Linked DNA regions of Homo sapiens: region 1 is linked to region 2. The links are contacts of gene promoters, found by promoter capture Hi-C in blood cells and fetal thymus (Javierre and others, 2016). All regions are on one chromosome and are shown on one strand. The core of a region is centred on a gene start or on the middle of the fragment in contact, and the rest is flanking DNA. Distances in the headings are between cores, read along the strand shown. Region 1 overlaps PIK3CB (phosphatidylinositol-4,5-bisphosphate 3-kinase catalytic subunit beta). Region 2 holds the start of RASA2 (RAS p21 protein activator 2).

The links. The method cuts DNA at HindIII sites, captures the fragments that hold promoters and counts their contacts. A CHiCAGO score of 5 or more calls a contact.
Region 1: a contact is called between a fragment that was not itself captured here and the fragment with the promoter of RASA2 in region 2, in 1 of 17 cell types (neutrophils). The highest score is 6.1, in neutrophils.

What each region holds. Positions count from the first base shown.
Region 1 is chr3:138,782,735-138,789,513 of GRCh38, forward strand. All of the region lies in intron 2 of PIK3CB (phosphatidylinositol-4,5-bisphosphate 3-kinase catalytic subunit beta), which reads right to left. Among named protein-coding and RNA genes, the nearest start is that of PIK3CB, 49 kb to the right of the region's middle. The HindIII fragment of the contact is 5,316 bases long and covers 1-4,785 here.
Region 2 is chr3:141,481,079-141,488,276 of GRCh38, forward strand. It overlaps RASA2 (RAS p21 protein activator 2), which reads left to right and starts at 5,949. Exons shown (of 24, transcript NM_006506.5): 1 at 5,949-6,138. The coding sequence starts at 6,006. RefSeq lists a silencer at 5,858-6,737. The HindIII fragment of the contact is 5,296 bases long and covers 4,764-7,198 here.

The DNA of each region.
Region 1 (6,779 bases), core at 878-3,377, 2.7 Mb before region 2:
AGTGGAATAGAGGATGACAGAGTCACAAGATGGAAGAAACCATTTGAAAGAGAACCACCTACCAAAGAGGGCCATCCAACTTAACTGTTCCACGAGTGAGAAATAAATGTCTATTAAGTTTGGACCATTATTCATTTTTGGTCTGTTGACAGCAATTTAGCCTTCACTAATTTAGTCAAACACATAATCTAAGTAGCTGCAAGGCCATGATTAAAACCCACATATCCTCCCTCAGTCAGTCCAATATCACTGTTTTCCTTATCACCCTTCATCCAAACAGAAAACAGAATTATGAAGAGCAGTGGGGGATATCATTAATGAGGCTACCATTATGACACCAGCAAATCATTCACTCCTGCTGAAGCTCAACAACTTTTATCCTTGTTCATTACTCTGCACAATGCATTTTAAAATCCCCTGGCAGAAATGAACATATCGACAGCTCTCCTCTTCCTCTGTAATCTTCTGATGAGAATTATTTTATTTTCATAAACAAATGTAGAGGTTAAAACATGTTAATTTGAGGCAGATAAAGAGGGTGATTTTTTTTTTTTTAATTTTTTTTGGGACAGAGTCCCACTCTGCCACCCAGGCTGGAATGCAGTAGTGTAATCATAGTTCACTGCATCGTCAACCTCTGGAGCTCAAATGATCCTCCTATCTCAGCCTCTCAAGTAGCTGGGATTACAGGTGCATGGCACCCAGCTAATTTTTTCATTTTTTGTAGAGACAAGATCTCACTATGTTGCGCAGGCTGGTCTCAAACTCCTGAGTTCAAGTGATCCCCATCCCCCGGCCTTGGTCTCCCAAAGTGCTGGGAATAGAGGCATGAGCCACCATGGCCCATGAGGGTGATATTTTAACAGAGACAATGTAAGACAGGAAATTAGCTAGGCAGGCAAGGAAAGAAAGACTATATGCAAAGACCTGAGAAACCTTAAGCATTTATGGAATTCAACAAGCAGAGTACAGGGGCAGAATGGTACTGGGGAGGCTGGTAGGTCAAATTAAGGTGCTGTTCTTCATGCAAAAGAACAAGAGATTCAATGAAGAATGTCAAACAGATAAATAAAAAATGATAAAATAAACAACTTTTGAAAGTTACAGTGTGAAAAAGAACATATAAAGAACATGAATCCAACAAAAAAAATTGGGATAATAATTAGTTTCCCAAAAGCCCAAATAACCCATAAACATATGGGGGAAAATGTTCAACCTCATTGGTCACCAAGAAAATGTAAATTAAAACCACACTGAGATGCCATTTCATAGATCGTTGCTTATGGGAGAATAAACTGATTTAACCTCTTCCAAAGGGAGTTTAGCATCAAAAATTGCATTACTAGGTATAATATTCTACGAAAATGCTTATCCGGGCCAGGCACAGTGGCTCACGCCTGTAATCCCAACACTTTGGAAGACAAGTGGATCACCTGAGGTCAGGAGTTTGAGACCAGCCTGACCAACATGGTGAAACCCCATCTCTACTAAAACTGCAAAAATTAGCTGGGTGCAGTGGCATGCACCTGTAATTCCAGCTACTTGGGAAGCTGAGTGGAATCACTTGAACCCGGGAAGCAGAGGTTGCAATGAGCTAAGATCACGCCACTGCACTCCAGCCTGGGCAACAGAGAGAGACTCTGTATCAAAAAACAAAAAAAGGCTCTCCCTCTCCCTCCCCCTCCCCCTCTCCCTCTCGTCTCCGTCTCCGTCTCCCACTTTGCACGGTCTCCCTCTGATGCCGAGCGGAGGCTGGACTGTACTACCACCATCTCGGCTCACTGCAACCTCCCTGCCTGATTCTCCTGCCTCAGCCTGAGGAGTGCCTGGGATTGCAGGCGCGCGCCGCCACGCCTGACTGGTTTTTGTATTTTTTGGTGGAGACGGGGTTTCGCCCTGTTGGCTGGGCTGGTCTCCAGCTCCTGACCGCGAGTGATCTGCCCGCATGGGCCTCCCGAGGTGCTGGGATTGCAGACGGAGTCTCGCTCACTCAGTGCTCAATCTTGCCCAGGCTGGAATGCAGTGGCGTGATCTCAGCTCGCTATAACCTCCACCTCCCAGCCGCCTGCCTTGGCCTCCCAAAGTGCTGAGATTGCAGCCTCTGCCCGGCCGCCACCCCGTCTGGGAAGTGAGGAGCGTCTCCCTGGCCACCCATGGTCTGGGATGTGAGGAGCCCCTCTGCCCGGCCGCCACCCCGTCTGGGAGGTGAGGAGCGTCTCTGCCCGGCCACCCCGTCTGAGAAGTGAGGAGCCCCTCCACCCGGCAGCCGCCCCGTCTGGGAAGTGAGGAGCCCCTCCGCCCCGCAGCCGCCCCGTCTGGGAAGTGAAGAGCATCTCTGCCCAGCAGCCGCCCTGTCCGGGAGGTGGGGGGCAGCCCCCGCTCGGCCAGCCGCCCCGTCCGGGAGGGAGATGGGGGGCAGCCCCCGCCCGGTCAGCCGCCCCGTCCGGGAGGGAGGTGGGGGGCAGCCCCCGCCCGGCCAGCCGCCCTGTCCCGGAGGGAGGCGGGGGGAAGCTCCCGCCCGGCAGCCGCCCCCTCCAGGAGGTGGGGGGGCGCCTCTGCCAGGCCGCCGCCCTGTCTGGGAGGTGTACCCAACAGCTCATTGAGAACGGGCCATGATGACGATGGCAGTTTTGTCGAATAGAAAAGGGGGAAATGTGGGGAAAAGAAAGAGATCAGATTGTTACTGTGTCTCTGTAGAAAGAAGTAGACATAGGAGACTCCATTTTGTTCTGTACTAAGAAAAATTCTTCTGCCTTGGGATGCTGTTAATCTATAACCTTACCCCCAACCCCATGCTCTCTGAAACATGTGCTGTGTCCACTCAGGGTTAAATGGATTAAGGACGGTGTAAGATGTGCTTTGTTAAACAGATGCTTGAAGGCAGCATGCTCCTTAAGAGTCATCACCACTCCCTAATCTCAAGTACCCAGGGACGCAAACGCTGCGGAAGGAAGCAGGCAGGGCCCTCTGCCTAGGAAAACCAGAGACCCTTGTTCACATGTTTATCTGCTGACCTTCCCTCCACTATTGTCCTATGACCCTGCCAAATCCCCCGCTCCGAGAAACACCCAAGAATGATCAATAAATACTTAAAAAAAAAAAAAAAAGAAAATGCTTATCTGAGGATATGACATTCACATGAATGTTTAAGGTGAAAGTTTTCATAGTAACAAAAAACTAGGCATAATCCTAATGTACATTAATAGATCAATAAATAATAGTTTACAATAGGAAAAATGAATAAAATACAGCTACACACATCACCATTAATGAACCTTACCAACAATGTTAAAAGAAACAAAAGAATATATATAGCATGACCACATTTACTGGAGTATATGAAGCAAGACTCCATCTCAAATAAAATAAAATAAAAGTAAAATAAAATCAGGCTGGAGCTTCCTCATTTTCCCCAGTTCTCTTCACAGTGTTAAAGAAAACAGTCTCTCCTGGGTGCTCAGAAGCAGCAGAAAGAGAGCTCCAAAGGTTGCTTTAAAAATGTCTCCTCACAAAAATTACAGATTTGTAGTCATGAGCTATATATAATAATCTCCATTCACTAATAATCCTTAAAACTTTGAATAAAAAGTTTAGGTCCTTTTTGAAAATAATGTGATTTTCTATTTAATTTTTTTTTTAAGATGGAGTCTTGTTCTTGTCACCCAGGCTGGAGTATAATGACGCGATCTTGGCTCGCTGCAATCTCTGCCTCCCAGGTTCAAGCCTCAGCCTCCTGAGTAGCTGGGATTACAGGCACGCACTACCATGCCCAGCTAATTTTTTGGATTTTTAGTAGAGATGGGGTTTCACCATGTTGGCCAGGCTGGTCTCGAACTCCTCACCTCAGGTCATCCACCCACCTCGGCCTCCCAAAGTGCTGGGATTACAGGCATGAGCCACCGTGCCCAGCCTGTATTTAAATTTTAAATACTATAAGTTTTATAAAATTATACTTAAAATGTACTATACTATGCATAAAACTGGTAATCCTCCACATAAAACTATTTAATAACATGTGACTATTTAACATGGTTTAAAAAACAGTATTGAGACCAACAAGGCAGCCATTTATATTACCCTTTATGTACTACTTCCTCTATCATGTGGCAGTCAAAAGGCTAAGTGAAATGCTTGCAGCAAAGAAAACAGTTTTGAAAGGTCATGCTATGCAGACAGCCAGAATTTCTTTCACAATATCCTTACTGTCTATGGCAAACTGCATGACAATCTGACCACAGTTATTTTCTGTGTAAAAGTAAAAAGCACACCACATTATCAAAGGACCAGAAACAGTAAGCACTCAACAATATCATCTTTATGAACATTTTTTCTAACTGCGTAAACATCCATACATATTAATGAAAAAGAACCCCGAGGCAAAGACAATGAATTGGAGAAAGAGGAACTTGGAAAAACTGGAAGGCAAGTTTAAACTATACCACTCTGTTTACTCATAGTGTTCACATAACATAAGAAGCTCCTATAGCTGGGCGTGGTGGCAGGTGCCTGTAATTCCAGCTACTCAGGAGGCTGAGGCAGGAGAATTGCTTGAACCTAGGAGGCAGATGCTCCAGTGAGCCGAGATCGCACCACCGCACTCCAGCCTGGGCGACAGAGCAAGACTCCGCTCAAAAAAAAAAAAAAAAAGAAGCTCCTAAAGGAAAACTTTTCAAATTAAGACACATCATTTACAAAGAAAAAAGCCTAATTATAACAATATTGAAGACATTAAGATCATCTTTCAAAATTTCCATTATCTTAATGACAATTGCAAACAAGGTGCAAAGCTTCAAAAACCTCTCTGTGGCAGCTGTAATCCCATCACATTTTTTCCCTTTCATAGCTTTTACTGGTTTATCATTCATCTGAATAGGGAATATATTTTTCCAACAGTTAAGGTAGTACACAATCAATCAGTAAACACAAAAGTGAAAATTTCTCCAGCTCCTTGTAAAATTTCCAAACAGGAGGTTAACAAATGTATTCTTTTTTTTTTTTTTAAAGAAAGAAAAAAAAATCTAGTTTGTTTAATTGCTGTCCTATCCTAAAAGATCATATTCATGACTACACACAGCCAAGTAACATGGACACGGTCCCTGAAGCTTATGGCAAAGCATACTTAAGATTTTTTAAGGCCCCAGAATTTTAATTCCTGTGAAAATCTCTCACTAAAATTTAACTAGAAGACTTTTTTTTTTTTTTTTTTGAGACATGATCTTGCTCTGTCACCCAGGCTGGAGTATAGTGGTATGACCTCGGTTCAGTACAACTTCCGCCTCCCAGGTTCAAACGATTCTCCTGCCTCAGCCTCCCAAGTAGCTGGCTCTACAGGCATGCACCACCACACCTGGCTAGTTTTTGTATTTTTGGTGGAGATGGGGTTTTGCCATGTTGGCCAGGCCGGTCTCTAACTCCTGACCTCAGGTGGTCTGCCCGCCTTGGCCTCCCAAAGTACTGGGATTGCAGGCATGAGCCACCACGCCTGGATGAAGACACCTTTCTTTACCAGTTCTGACCTTGTAGCAGAGCATAAGGATTTGTGCTACTTCTAAAACTACCAGAAAACAGTGTATGATAAACATTCTTTTAAGGAAATAAACTTAAAACATTCCATTATTCAAAAACCACAACTATACTACTGGCTGGGCACAGTGGCTCACGCCTGTAATCCCAGCACTTTGGAAGACCGAGGCGGGCAGATCACCTGAGGTCAGGAGTTGAAGACCAGCCTGACCAACATGGCAAAACCCTGTCTCTACTAAAAATACAAAAATTAGCCAGGCCTGGTGGCATGCGCCTGTAATCCCAGCTACTTGGGAAGCTGAGGCAGGAGAATCGCTTAAACCTGGGAGACTGAGGTTGCAGTGAGCCGAGATCATGCCACTGCACTCAAGCCTGGGTGACAGAGCAAGACTTTGTCTCAAAAAAAAAAAAAAAAAAAAAAAAGGCCAGGGGCGGTGGCTCACCCCTGTAATCCCAGCACTTTGGGAGGCCAAGGCGGGCGGATCACCTGAGGTCAGGAGTTTGAGACCAGCCTGGCCAACATGGTGAAACCCCGTATCTACTTAAAATACAAAAAATTAGCTGGGCATAGTGGTACGCACCTGTAATCCCAGCTACTAGGGAGGCTGAGGCAGGAGAATCGCTTGAACCCGGGAGGCGGAGGTTGCAGTGAGCCCAGATCGTGCCATTGCACTCCAGACTGGGGGAAAAGAGAGAGACTTCGTCTCAAAAAAAAAAAAAAAAAAAAAAAAAAAACAAAAAACAACACCACAGAGTTTTTTTTTTATAAAACCAAACCCAGGCAAGGCTGTGGAGAAACTGGAAATCTTGTGTATTGCTGGTGCAAATATAAAATGGTATAGCCAGTATGGAAGACAGCAGGATTGTTCCTCAAAAAATTAAAGCATATGGCAGGGCGTGATGGCTCACGCCTGTAATCCCAGCATGATATTGTTGAGTGCCTACTGTTTCTGGTCCTTTGGAGGCCAAGGCAGGCAGACAGCTTGAGCCAGGTGTTCAAGACTAGCCTGGGCAACGTGGCGAAACACTGTCTCTAATAAAAATACAAAAAATTAGCCAGGTGTGGTGGTGGGCACCTGTAGTCCCAGCTACTCAGGAGGCTGAGGTGGGAGGATCACTTGAGCACAGGAGGTGGAGGTTGCAGTGAGCCATGACTACACCACTGTACTCTAGCCTGGTTGACAGAGTGAGACCCTATCTCAAAAAAAATAAAAAGAAAAATTAAAGCATATGATCCACTATGATCTAATAATCCC
Region 2 (7,198 bases), core at 4,699-7,198:
CAGATTATGATCGATGAGCTTCTGCTCTCCTTGGCTGTCTCTGACAAAAATGAGCTGCTTGTGACAGACGCAGCCCCAGCCCAGTGTGAGGATTGGAAACCTCAGACCCTGACTCTTTCCCTTTCTCCTTCCTTATCTGACTCCTGAGCTATTATTGCCTTTTCTCTGCACCTAAGCTTTCTGCAAAGCCCAGACCCAGCCAGCTGGTTCTGTGGTCTGCTCTGATTTCCCTTGTGGATTTTAAATTCAGAATTCTAGGCTCATTTGTTAGCAGCTTCTCTGAACACATTATCTCATTTATTTGCTCATTCATTCATTCGTTCATTTATCAAACATTTAATAAGTGCCTTCTGTGTTCTTCTATATTTTCTATGCGCTAGGGAGGCAAAGACAAAACATTGTCCAGTCTTTGAGATGGTTTCAGACAGGTAAACAAACAGGAATAGTAAATGTGTTATGAGCACTACAATGATTATGTGTATTCTTATATACATGGTACATAATGGCCTAAAGGAAAAAGAGGCCAGTTCTGTGAGACAAAGTCAGGAGGTGAAGATTGGGCATTAAATGTATTGAAATATTTTCATTTGAACTTAGGCACTATTATTGGAAGATAAGTATGTTGATATGGTGAACAGAGTTGGCTGCCTACTCCATGTCTTACTGCTCCCCTTTCTGTGTCACAAGAAAACACTGGTTTGGTTCAGGCTTCAGGTCTCAAGTAGCAATGTACTTTGGGAAGGAGGGTTCATCCCCAGACCCAGGGGTATCAATGTTGCTTAGACTAAGAAAATTATATATTCCTTGTGATTGTAAATGAGCCTTAAGAAGATACCTCATGGTGGTGATTTACAGGAAAGCTACCTGGAAAAGCGTTCCTCCCTAATATTAGGTTGGTGCAAAAGTAACTATGATCTTGCCACTGAAAGTAATGAAAAAGACATTTTAGAAAAAAAAAAATACACCTTCCTGCCATTGGATGTTGAGATATTTGGAGGTACAGGAGCCATATTGTGACCATGAGGCAAAAGCCAAAAGAATTGCAAAGAAGCTAACCCAATAAAGTCCTGTTTATGAATGAATACAGAGTAGAAAATGAAACAAGTGAATGGCTGCACAACATTTCCAGTTTTCTTTTTACACTTATTGTTTTGTATGTTTTTATTTGTTTGGTTGGTTTTGAGTTTTGGGGGTTTTTGTTGTTTTTGTTTTTTGATTTGTTTTTTTAATAGATTTGGGGTCTCACTATGTTGCCCAGGCTCGTCTTGAACTCCTGGGCTCAAGTGATCCACCCAACTCGGCCTCTGAAAGTTCTGGGATTATAGGCATGAGTCACCATGCCCAGCCTACACCCATTGTTTTGTTTTATCACTAAAATGACAAGAATGCACTGCAGATGGAATGGATATGGCAAAATAGTTCAAAAGGAGGGGGATTGAGAAATAACTGAAGTCACACTGACCTAAGGGCATCAGCTGTATTGTGCTCAGATATTCAGGCCTTTAAAGTTCTCTTGCAAGAGGTGACAGAATTTGAAAAAAAAAAAATTCTATTTTTAGAGACAGGGTCTCTCTCTGTCACCCAGGCTGGAGTGCACTGGGATGATCATAGCTCACTGCAGCCTCAAATTCCTGAGCTCAAACAATCCTCCCACCTCAGCCTCCTGATTAGCTAGGAGTACAGGCAGGCACGTGCCACCATGCCCAGCTAATTTATTTATTTATATTTGTAGAGACAGAGTCTCACGGTGTTGCCCAGGCTGCTCCTGAACTCCTAGCCTCAGGTGATCCTCCTGTCAAAGTTGGTATTACAACCGACTGTTGGATTACAGGCATGAGCCATCACATCTGGCCTTGAAAATATTTGTACCGAAGGAGTTGGAGGTTTTAAGGTAAAAATTTGTCCACATTTTTGTCCACACAGCCTTGTCAATGGCCTTATTTGGTCTTCAAATGAAATGTTGAAAGTATGTTTTCTGAACATTTAAGGTCTCTCCTCACCTCCTACCACTCCAATTTTATTTTTTAAAATGCCAGTTGGATTTAGAGATTTTTTTTTAATAATGTAATTAGTGCATAATGCTTAACATCAAACAGTACTCTGATGGGGCAAATGGGGAAACCAAGTCATCAATGATCAAAGGAACTTGCTTTCCCACCAGTCCGGCAGAAACAGTTCTGTCTCATGAGTGTCCAGCCCTATGAAAATGATCTACATTTAAATATTAAAAAGAAAGCACATTTCTCTTCCTCCTACTCGCCAGAAAAAATGTAATAAATAACTCAAGGCCAGGAGACAACCCCTTACAATGCCATGTTATAGGTTGGTGGGTGCTGATTCAAAAATATGCCGTAACAGACAAGTTATGGAATTAGTTTCTAGCTGCAGGTTATAGTCTTCTTATTAAGAGACAATGTAGTTTTCCTACATCATCTGCCATAAAGCAAGCCAATGTATGGGTTGAAATGACTGAATGAGTTTAAAACTGGTGAAGAAATAGGAAAAGACATAGTAGTGAATGGTTGCTCATCAGAACGAAGAGTGGTAGGGATAGAAGGGATGGCCTTTAAACACATTCATTAATAATTTGAGGAAGGAAGTGAAGTTCAAGTTTGTGATGATGCAATATTGTTCCAGTTACTAAACATCATGAAGAAAAGAGAGGAACTCTAGATGAATTTAAAACATAATGCAAGGGCAATAAGGGGAATGAGATGTAACAGCCTTCTCGTAATTATACTGTATGTCTTGTTAGTCTTTAGAAAACTTTATTTTCGGCCGGGCGCGGTGGCTCACGCCTGTAATCCCAGCACTTTAGGAGGCTGAGGCTGGTGGATCACGAGGTCAGGAGATCAAGACCACAGTGAAACCACGTCTCTACTAAAAACACAAAAAAAATTAGCCGGGCGCAGTGGCGGGCGCCTGTAGTCCCAGCTACTAGGAAGGCTGAGGCAGGAGGATGGCATGAACCCGGGAGGCGGAGCTTGCAGTGAGCCGAGATCGCGCCACTGCATTCCAGCCTGGGCAACAGAGCAAGACTCCATCTTAAAAAAAAAAAAAAGAAAAGAAAGAAAGAAAGAAAACTTTATTTTCCAAATATTTTATATTAAGGAAACATTGACATTACCCAAGATCTCTTCAAAGTAGGCAAGTATCAGTAAAAACAGAATAATTAGAAGTGACTTCGGATGAAAAAGCAATGGAGTTTGGGGATTTTAGTGAAACGGTATAAGTCCGAAATCTGCAAAAGGAAGACTGTCTGGAAGAACAAAAAAGTGGAGTGTCCCTTTATGTAAAATTGTTTTCATACCTTTAGTGACCATTTAGTAACAGAGTTATGCACTTGGGGTTAAGCTAGTGAAAAGGAAGGGAAGTTAGAAGATTTTGACACTAATGGACAAAGATATTGATACTTTGTCCATTGGATACGTTTGTCCATTGGATACATTTGTCCATTTGTACATTGATACTTTATCCATGGATACATTTGTCCAAAGGTTCAAATAATTTCTCTGTTTATTGGAGAAAGAAATAGATGGATGAGGCATCGCTTGGCCAAGCAGGAGGAAGGCCAGAATCAGGCTGGTGAGAAAAGGGGCTCAGTGTGGCTGGAGATCAGAGGAGTCAGGTACGCTGGATCCAGTTCCAACTCTTGGCTGAAGAATTTGAACTTTAGTCATTTCTAGCATTGTTCATTACCTGTAGTGTGCTCTTGCTAGCTGGCTGAAGGGATAAATGAAGCCACTGATGTCCTCTTGAGCAGGCAACTGATAAGCTCCATTTTTTTTGTTAGGAAAGTTAATTTAAGTGGTATGTAGGAGGAATGAGAGGGATGGGGGACTTATTACCAGAGTTCCAGTCAAAAGCATGAGGTCAGTTACTGAGGTAATCCTACTACGTGCTCAGCATTCCACTAGACACTTAACACCCTGCTCCCAATACTTATTTAATCTTAATAACAACCCTTCAAAGAAGAAAGTTTAGCATTTCCACTTTACTGTTAAAGAAACAGGTTCAACCGGGCGCAGTGGCTTACACCCAGCACTTTGGGAGGCTGACGCGGATGGATCACTTGAGCCCAGAAGTTCAAGACCAGCCTGGGCAACATGGCAAAACCCCATCTCTACCAAAAATACAAAAATTAACTGGACATGGTGGCGCGCACCTGTAGTCCCAGCTACTTAGGAGGCTGACATGGGAGGATAGCTTGAGCCCAGGAAGTTGAAGCTGCAGTGAGCTGAGATCGTGCCACTGCACTCCAGCCTAGGCAACAGAGCAAGACTGTCAAAAAAAAAAAGAAAGAAAGAAAGAGAAGAAACAGAAACAGGTTTAGGAAGGTTGAGTAACTTGCCCAAATGTAAAAGGGGTAGAAACAGGCTCTATGTCTGATTCTAAAAAGGGATGCCTTTAAAAATAAGGGGGAAAAAACCCTGTAACACGTTGATACTCTTTAAATGAGAATAATTTTAACAAGGGCAATGACAGAGAATGGAAAGGAAGGAAGAGATTTCAGCAGAGTCAGAAGGATGTGGCAACTGAAAACAGCATTGGGACAAGGGATAAGAAAAAGTCAAAGTTTCTGGCCTGAGTAACAGTATAAGATGTGAACTCAGATTTGGAAAGGGAGACAGGAAATTAAGTTTTGGACTTATGTTTGAAATGACAGCAAAACATTCATATAAGAGGAAGTGGTTCACTTTATCCAACAAGTGTAAAGATCACATGGGGAAATAGAAGTCACCTGCAACACAGGCAGAACTGGAAGCTTCGCTGGCCAGGTCCATGTTAAACTCTGACCATTCTCTGGGGCTGTCCAGCCTTTGCACAGGCGGCGCGTTTGTCTTCAGTTTTCAGGTTTCCCCGTCCTATTTCTTATCTCCCAGTGCCTCTGGCCTTTTCTGTGTCTCCCTCCAGAATGAGCTGGAGCTCTCTTCATCTTGACCTTTGTGTAGTCTCTGAGGTCTGAGGCCATCACTATGTCTGACCCTCAAAAAATATTTGTTGACTGACTGGCTTATTCCTGTTGTTGCCCTGGAAAAGAATTACCCTGCCCGATTAAGTCACAGTTTCTTCCTTCTTAGGGCAGCGTAGTTAACAACCTCAACACCAGGAAATTGTCTTCCTCATCACATACCAGGGTATTATTCATGCAGTTTACTCACTGTAAAGAGTTCCCTTGAAATAAAGCTAACAATTAGTCAAAGATTTACACATTTCCTAGGGTCAGTCAACTTTTTAACAAAGCCAACTTTTAGTAGTGGTGGCGGTGGCGGGGGGGAGCCCTTCTTTGCTTTTTCTGTTCCTGAAATACAAAAGTGATGGTAAATGCTTCAGAATTTCTCTATGAGAGGGTCTCAGGCACTGCACTCACGCTGGAGTTGGGGGTGGCTGGTCCTTTTCTTGAACCAGGTTTTGCAGAGAATTGGTCCTAGTAAAGAGTATTTGTGTGGGAGGAGTTTGGCTTGCTGGCGGGGAGTATTTGGATAATACTGGAAGAGCCTCAAATGCATCTCTTGCCTCCTTTTGAATAAGATACTTTTGAGGTCCACCCACCTGCCAAATTCCATTCTATTTTCTTCCCACAGGGAGTTTCCCTGATTGGGAAGGGCCTGTATTTCCCGCGAGCGTTAGGAGATGTGCAGGTCTATTCATTGGGGGAGCCCAATTCCCGGGAGGATTTAGGGATCACGGGAGGGCCGGGGCGTTCTCCTGGTGGGGATTTTAAGGCCGCTCAGAGCCACGACTGGGAGCTACCCTTAGCCAGCGCCCCAAGCCGGGAGTACGGTTCTCTGCAGGGTAGCCCGGCTCGGGGGTGGCGAAGGCGGTGAATGGAGACCCGGGGGGGGCGGGGGCGGGGCCGCGGCGGGCGGGGCGGGGCGGGGCGAGTCGGGCCGAGGCCCGGGGGCGGGGCCAGGCGCGCGGCTGGCCTGGGCCTAGGCCGCTGCTGGGCTCCGCCTCGCCCGGCTACGCAGGCGGCAGGGCTGCGGCACGGGCCGGGCGGCACCATGGCGGCGGCGGCGCCTGCTGCTGCGGCGGCTTCTTCCGAGGCGCCAGCGGCGAGTGCGACTGCAGAGCCCGAGGCCGGGGACCAGGACAGTCGCGAGGTTCGAGTGTTGCAGAGCCTGCGGGGCAAGATCTGTAAGCGGGGGCTGGGCTGAGGGGACGCCCTGGCGGCGCTGGGCGCGAGGCTGAGGGGGCGGCGGGTTCGCGGCGGTGGCGGCGCCGAGCTGCGCTGGGATCGCGGGCCCGGGAGGGGGCCTGGGCCGGGCGCGGTTGAGGCTGGAAGGGGGTGTGTTGGGGGGCGGCGTCGCCTCGACGGGGCGGCGTGGGCCGGGGCTGCTGCTCTCCGGAGGGAGTGGGAGCTGGAGATGGGCCTGGGGTGGGAGAGCCCGGGCTGCGCCGGCGTGAGGGGCTCGGTCGTGGGGAGCGGCCTGGACGCGGGGACGCTGGAGTCCGGGGCGCGGCCGGGGGCGCGGTCCGGGGGCGTGAGGAGCTTCCGGCCGCCCTCAGACTCAGGCCTTCGCGCGGCTGCGGGCGCTGGGGAGTGGCCCCGCGGTGGGAGCCGAGCAGTAATTATACGGAGGCGCGGCCCGAGGAGGTGGCGGGCTGGGAAGTGGGGCTGGCCCGAGGGGAGGGGGCTGTTCGTTTCCTGGGCTCGGCGAGCCTGGGAGAGGTTGAAAAAGGCGCCCTGAGCTGCAGGAAACGGGCCGCCCTGGGGCCCGAGTGGCTACCGCGCGGTCTGTTCGCGGGTGAGCGCCCCGGGAGGAGCTCGGCGGGACACCTGTACTTGCCCCACCTCGCTGCGGCCGGGACTTGAATCGAGGGACGGCGTGACAGGCGGGACTAAAGGCAGGATGTAGTGGCTTCCTGTGAGCAGGTCTCAAAACACAATCACCCAGCCCGCACTCAGCCCGCTTAATTCCCTTCCTTCTCATGCGTGTAATTGCTACTTTAGTGAGCGAGCCTACCAGTTGACTAAATACGAAATTTTGCTCAGAGTTGTCCGAGCATTACTGTGGACAGATTATTTGAGTTCTGTCATTTGAACATTTTAGTTTTAAAAACGACCCTTTGGTGTCAGGTTGCCATTTTTTTTTTCACAGTGGTTTATTTAGATGAAGTGCTTTTTGTTTTCTGTTTGTAAGAGAGATCAATAACATTTATTTTTGCATTTGTCGAAAATTAGCATTATTTTCTT